Regions from separate parts of the Homo sapiens genome. Here region 1 is linked to region 2. The links are contacts of gene promoters, found by promoter capture Hi-C in human tissues and cell types (Jung and others, 2019). All regions are on one chromosome and are shown on one strand. The core of a region is centred on a gene start or on the middle of the fragment in contact, and the rest is flanking DNA. Distances in the headings are between cores, read along the strand shown. Region 1 overlaps NBEA (neurobeachin). Region 2 holds the start of MAB21L1 (mab-21 like 1).

Evidence for each region. The method cuts DNA at HindIII sites, captures the fragments that hold promoters and counts their contacts. A contact is called where the count stands out against the background at its distance.
Region 1: a fragment that was not itself captured here is called in contact with the fragment with the promoter of MAB21L1 in region 2 in 1 of the 25 tissues and cell types used here (H1 embryonic stem cells).

What each region holds. Positions count from the first base shown.
Region 1 is chr13:35,534,472-35,537,967 of GRCh38, forward strand. The region is part of intron 41 of NBEA (neurobeachin); the gene reads left to right. Among named protein-coding and RNA genes, the nearest start is that of MAB21L1, 60 kb to the left of the region's middle. The HindIII fragment of the contact is 7,621 bases long and covers 1-3,496 here.
Region 2 is chr13:35,475,049-35,478,759 of GRCh38, forward strand. MAB21L1 (mab-21 like 1) reads right to left here and starts at 1,641. Exons shown (of 1, transcript NM_005584.5): 1 at 1-1,641. The coding sequence starts at 1,090. The coding sequence ends at 11. The region is part of intron 41 of NBEA (neurobeachin); the gene reads left to right. RefSeq lists an enhancer at 217-1,213. The HindIII fragment of the contact is 6,873 bases long and covers 1-2,816 here.

The DNA of each region.
Region 1 (3,496 bases), core at 354-2,853, 59 kb after region 2:
CCAGTGCTCTCAATGGCATCACATTCCTCATTAGAGCTGCCATCTATTGAGGGCTAAGTTAAAATCCCCATTCCAGTTCATCCTTTCTGCAGTGAGTGCTCTGGACAGCCTCTTGCCTGTAGACATGTGACCTCTGTACTTGGAGTGGAAACACCTGAGATAAGAACTTTACATACCGTAGCTCATTTAATTCTTTCAACAACCCAGTAAAATAGAATCATCCTATCAATCTTACAGATAAAGACACAAATAGAAAAGCTGGGCTCCATGAAAGGAGGGGCCGTCTCTGTCTTGTTCACAATGTGTCCCATCACCTAGCACAATATCTGGATCCTAGTACATGCCGACTGAATTTTTTTTGATGAACAAATTATGTGTTATGCCAACAGGCTTTGCCTAGGATCAGAGAACTTGCTCATGATATTCAAATGAAACAAATAAAAGGCAAATTTTCAGCAAACTAGTATTTTGCTTCAAATAGCTTTACAAAAAAAGAATAAAAACTCAGCAGAAGAGAAAAAAATAATCCTGGGGCATTCCAGAAATGCAGAAGAAACTTTTTGGTTATATTTAACCCTGGAAATACTGTTTTCGTTGCCTGCAAGTCGGGTAATCTCTAAATCCTCTTTTTACCCAATTATAGATATTTGTGAAAGGTACTCATTTGCCAGCAAGGGCCATTTACTGGGCTATTTACAGTTAAACTGAGTTGCATTTCTTGAAGAGCTAATTTTCCTGTAATGTAGAAAACTGGCGGCAGAAGCAAAAACACCATGGGAAATTCAGTAGGTGCATTGTGTAGTTGAAGCATGAAGGTGCTTTAAGGTGTTTTTTGTTTAGTTTTGTTTTGTTTTGTTTTTTATGTTAAACTTCAAATGCAGAAGACAGAACACGCAAAACCGTTTAGTAAGTGGTAAATAAGAACAAATTCCAGGAAATAATCAGAGCTGATTGGAGCAATGTGACACACAGAACCAGAGACTGGATCAGAGAATAAAGTACACTGAAAAGGATCTGGGCTGGGGTCAAGGCAGAGACTGCTCCCATCACTCCTGACTGAGGGTTCACTAAGGTCTGGGTAGGGGAGGATCGTGAATTCATTTGTTCAACACATCTATGTAGCACAGCCTTTCTGCTAACCTCCCCACTTGATACTTGCTGTGTTATTTCATTTAATACTCACAGCAACCCTGCAAAGTAGATGTAATTTGTCCCATTTTATATAAGGGAAACTGTCACAAGTGTATTGGGAAACTTGCCTGAAGTTATACAAACTTTAGAGTCTGTGTGTCATCCTCCAAGTCCAAGTTCTTTCCACTACAGCATGGCATACAGATATATAAAAAATTACTTTAGTCTACAAAACTAAGTGCTAGTAAAGTACATACTTATTGCTACATACTGGTAGGATGAGGGAATGTGGCAAGGGTAACATTCATACTGCCTTAGGTAGATACACAGTAAAATAGACCCAATCAAAAGGACTTCCAAAATGCAAGTTTGCCTGCATGAGGTTATGTTTCATTCTACCACTTCTCTTCAGGAGACGGTGATGCTGAGGGAGCTGTAGCTTTAAGAGAAAGAAAAATAAATTCTCATGAACCCCAAGCATGCACCTGTGAATACCCAGGGGCACTTGGGTTTTCAAGTGAAAATATGCTTCACAAACTCGGAACCCATATTTTATGATAGCTTTCAGTTGCTAATTGTCACTGAAAAAGAAAAGTCTTTAAAACCTGAAAAATAATTCACATTCATCTTTTCTTTCTGGTCCCTGATGAGCCTACTACCTACCTGGCAGATACTTGATAAATGGTAAATATTTTTTGAATAAATGCTTTTTTGAGCAGTAAGTTTTTAATATATCATAGAAATTTACCAGGTAGACAAGGAGGAGAAGTTATTCTAGAACATAAAGTGTGGAAATGTTTGATATCTGCATTTGTTTTTTTTTAATTTCAATAGACTTTACTTTTTTAGAACAGTTTAAGTTTACAGAAAATTGAACAGCTAATACAGAGAGTTCCTATATATGTGTGTGTATTGGTCCTGTTTTTTTCCTTCTTCAAAGAACAGAGACATGAAAGTAACATCTGATAATAACACTTTATATTAGAAAATTGTCAGCTGCAAGTAACAGACACTGTAAACTGGCTTCGTAAAAAATAGATAGATGATAGATAGATAGATAGATAGATAGACAGACAGACAGACAGTCAGTCCTGGATTCTGGTGGTCTCCAAGGTTGATTCAGCTAGTCGTGGATGCTGTCAAAAACCCAGGTGCATTGCCTGTCTTTACTCAGTGATCCTTGGTTTGTCCTAATTCTTACGCTGATAGCAATGTGGCTCCAACACTTCAAAAAATCAACATAAGCTCAGAAATATTCAAAGGAATGAGAGAGCATCTCTTCCATTGGCTCCCTCACAGCATGTGGAAACTTTTCTAAATCCGATATACCCCTGGAACTGGCCAGGGGGTCAGTGTGTCCTGGCTTGGAAGTGATGTAAGAGAAGTCAATACCTGAACATGATTGGAGTTGTGTCAATCAGGGAAATGGGGCAGGGGGATAGGGTTGGAATAGGAGGAGTGGAATGGTTTCTGAGTAAGTAAGCAGTAGTGTCTACTATAGAGTTTCTTTTAAGAAAGCATAATAAAATACAAATGGTAAATTTTGATCAGGCCTTCTGAAAAACTGGAATTTTTTTCAGCTCCAATAAACCACATTTTTTCTGTCTCCCTCAATCATAGACACCCATTGACATAGCACCAATTACTCTGTTTATACTTCTGCTACTAGAGAATAACTATATATAGACCCTGTATATATACAGGGTCTCCTAGCTTAATCATTAATAGAAGTTAATCAGAAGAACAAAATCAGAAATCAGACTCTATATATACCCTTTAATTCAATCATTCAACAGATTTTTTACTGAGTTTCGACAACATACCAGGCATTGTGCTAAGTAATAGAGATACAGTAATGAGAAGAAAAAAAATGGTCAAAAAGCTTATAGTCTAGTGGAGGAGATTACATTAAAAATGAAATTATACAATGAATTTGCAAAATTACATTTGCGGTAAGTGCTGTGAAGAGAACTTGTCTCATAGGTGCTATGAGAGCGTAAGATAGGGTGATTTTACCTAGCTAGGGAGGTCAGTGGCAAAAATAGAAGCAAAAAGAGACCTTGAAGATGAGTAGAAGTGAACTTGGCAAATAGGGGAGGGAAGATATTTCCAGAGAGGGAAGAATATGTGCATTGGCTCTGTGACAGGAAACAACATGGTAGGTAACAAGGGACTGAACAAAGGCCAGTGTGGCTTGACCTCAAGGGCAAAGTGGAACCTGATTCATCTGGAGCAGGAGACCTGTTGTGTGCACCACTAACCCCATCCCATCTCTTTTGTTGTTGGCTCTGCTTCCTCAGAACTTCTGCTGCCTTATGATTTCTGTTGACTGCTTTCTCGCTGTGTTCTAGCTTCTTCCCACTGT
Region 2 (3,711 bases), core at 391-2,890:
AAATCATCCTCTAAAGTTTTTCCAAACTTTTCGGGTTGGTCAGGATCTCTCTTGCCAGTCGCCACGTTTGTTTGGCAGCGTTTTCCAGAGCTGAGTGAGGTTTGCCTTGAAACAGATCTAAGTTCGGTAGAAAGTAGTGGGGACACCGCCGGCACTGCAGGCAGGAGATAAGTTGCAGCAAAATCCCGTTCAGCCGATCACCCAGGCAAGACTCGTCCCAGTCCGACTCTCGGGGATGCTTTTCACACTCGTAGGAAACCAGAGTCTTCATATGGTAATTGTTCAAGGGCTGGCCCGGCAGTTCAAGGTGACGATCCCTTAAGGTTTTGAGGATGGAGAGGCACTTCTTTCTGCAGCCCCCCATCTGCAGTCTGTTCTCTGCCTCCGCGAACTGCAGCACCCAGGCGTCGCTCTCCGCCGAGCTCTGCTTGCCGGCCAAGGAGTGGCACTCCTTGGACAAGAGATTGAAACCTTCCGCCTTGACCTCCGCCACCCGGTTGGGTCCCGGCCAGGGGATGTGGGGAAGTGGCCAGTGGGCAGCACTCCTCGGCCAGATCCCGGTGCATTTAAAGGCCGGCGTGATCTGCACCACGTACCTATCTCGGATTCTCAGTTTCACTTCGCTGGTGTCTGCCACCATCTTTACCACATCCCGGTAGCTACATTTGTCTACCGCTTGAGCCACCAGCGTCTGAAACCTGGACCGGATTTTGCGCGCCGAGAGGTAGCCGGAGGCGGTAATGAATTCCACCCAGAGGGACATGCTCCTCTTGCGCCCGTCGCTCAACTTCAGCACCGCGCAGCCGGGCAGTGAGCCATCGTCCACGAAGTTGAACACCCCCATTTGGTTGAGATAAAGCACCACTTCAAATTCGGTGGGGGAGATGACCTCGAGGCCCTCGTAGCGATTGTCCATCTCGTTGAGAGAGCTGATGAACCGCGGCTCCTGCACTTCCACTTCCTTCAGTACGTCGGAAACTACTTTGCAGACTTCCCGGATAGTTTTGGCAATGGCAGCTTTCCTGGCTTGGCATTTTTCGTTGTAGTATTTATTCAGATGGTAGACCAGCTTGGCCTGGGCCGCAATCATGTTGGGGCAGAGATCCGGATTGTACACCGGAGTCTCGCAGTAAGCTGTGGGATCCAATGCGGCTGCTAGAGCTGGAGCCAACTTCGGTGGAGAAACGGGCCGCAACACTCAGAAATGGATCAAAAATGCCTTTCGGAAGTGCTGCAGCGTTGGTTTCCCTGCTGCTGCTGCTGCTGCTGCTGCTGCTGCTGCTGCTGCTGCTGCTGCTGCTGCTGCTTTTCCCTTCCTTTTATCTTTGAGCCCAGCCGTTCTTAAAGTGAAAGACTGTCCTCCCCCCTCTGCTTGTCTCTCTTCCTCTTTTAAAGAATCCTTGTGTGAGAGAACCGCATGGAGAGATCACCTTCTCAGGAATAAAAAACAAAAGTTGCGCTGAGACCCAGCAAAGCTCTTCCAGTAGTCAAAATAAGCACCCCTTTCCGTATTTATTTGCGCTTTCCCGTAATCATTGTGTGTGCAGCACTGTTAATCAAATGGAGGAAAAGTGTGCTGAGTGTGTGTCCGGGGTGAGTGTGCGTGTGTATATGTCAGAAGAAGCTGCTGTTGGTTTGTCTAAGAGCCCAGATGCACTCGTGTGGAAATTATAAAGGCAGGGCCAGGCAGGCGGGCGGCCAATCGCCACTGGGCTCGTCACGACAGCCTCCTTCAGCTCCAACCCGGCTAATTAATCCCCACTCATGGATATAGGCACACAAACTAAAGGTAGGAGGCTGCTGCCGGCGGAAAACCACTCAGGCCACCTAGACAGTTTGGAAATCAAGAGGAATCTCTCAGCTTTGGTATTACTTGAAGCATATTGACGTTTTGAAAAGACTTGGCAAAGCGGCTCTCTTCTGTGCCGAAAACCTGCTTGTCTTTTACCGCTGAAATGCAAATACAGGTGTATTAATGGGCATCCATCAATTAGTGATCTTGACGGGGTTTTCTAAAACAAAATCACTAACTTGCATTTAGAGTAAGATAATTAACGTCTGTTAATCCTTGGGGTCTTCTTAAATGCAGGTTGAAAGTTTGTTCTTTCATGCAGACTACTGGCATATGGAAGTTGGCTTTAGATGGAGGAGTACCTGTGTAATTTTCTCATTCTGGATGTTCCTATATGTTAAAATGATTTTTTGAAACGTTATGGAGGTAGTATGCTCTTTTTTTACTTATGTTTTTTTCTTTTCTCCATTTGTTGAATCTGAAAATTATTGCTGAGTGTGTGAGATGTTCTACCCCTGTTTAAGTTAGGATATTTAAAAAATATTTCGTACATCCCTCTGCCCCAGCAGATGCAGTCTTTGCACTTTGGTGGACTTGCCCAGCATTACAAGCAGGACACAACGCTATATATGCACTTATAGAAACATTTGAAAAATAAATTGTCTGTGGGATGGACAGAGTACTTTAGCGTTATTTCATAGTGACCTGTATTTTAGTACATAAAATTCAGGTGAGATCATAGAGATCAAGCTTCCTCACAGATAACTATCCCGAAAAATTGAAGGTTTGGGGTATCTGGCTTGTTTACAGATGTATAATTAAGGATATATCTCCTGTCTTAAGTGTCCTTAAGTGGTGACCTGGCAGTAGACTTCTAATTTTATACTATTTCGTGTGATTTAATTAAGGGAAAATGGTTAACATTTGCAAAGAAAATTAACTTGCAGTTATCTGGGGGGTTTTTTGGATTTAAACATCATTTTGAAAACAAAAATGAAATAAATCATTTCATTTCTGAATTTTGGAACCTGGAAACAGGAGGAGGAATTTTTTTTTCTAGTTGGTGGTCCAGTTGTGTCCTCAAAGTACAGGAAACTAAAGAAATACTACTTAGTGGTTACGTTGTGGTTTTTAAAACTAGGTGGATTTTTTTAATTGTCTACCTTTAATTTAGATGCCACGTCTTTCCAATTAAGAATATTTCCCGTCAAATCCTATAACTCCCGGTAACATGTTTGTAGACACTTTCAGAGTCACTTTTAACAAGATATTCTTCAGGGCTCCCACTTGCTACTTAAGCTTTTGATTTTTGTTTGTGTGTTTTGTTTTGCACAGGCACAGCATCACAAAACCACCTATTATTTAATTTCTCCTTATCCAACAGTGATAGATTCCAATTTAGCTGAAAATAGTATACATTGGGGTGCGTGGCACCCAGCTACTCTATTTCCCAAGAACCTTCCATCCCCTTAAGAGCAGGGTCTGGGAACACCCAAAAAACCCCTCCCCACTTTGCCGTCATCGCGGGTGAATGCACCACTACCTTTTGGCAGTTGGAGGGGAGACCCATCAGAGCCGGAGAACCTGCAGCCACGACGGCGAGGATGTGCAGTGGTCTCTGGGGAAACGCCGCCTTCTGCCCTCACCCGGCGCGTGTGGCCCTGTGCCGTCCGCTCGCCGCCTCTCTCTCGCTGCTCCGCATTCCCGTGCCCTCTTACTTTCCTCTCTGGGCTCAAGATCGCTACGCTTTATTTCTGCGTGAGCTTATTTGAAAACCTTACTTGGTGTCCCGGCTTACTCTCCACGTCTGCTCCAGACCACGGTCTGCCCACGCACCCCTCAGCCTGCACCGCCCACGTCCGGCCCAGGTGTGGTCGCAGCCAAGCCCCAGCCGCGGGCCCCTGCGCCCTGCGCTCTCT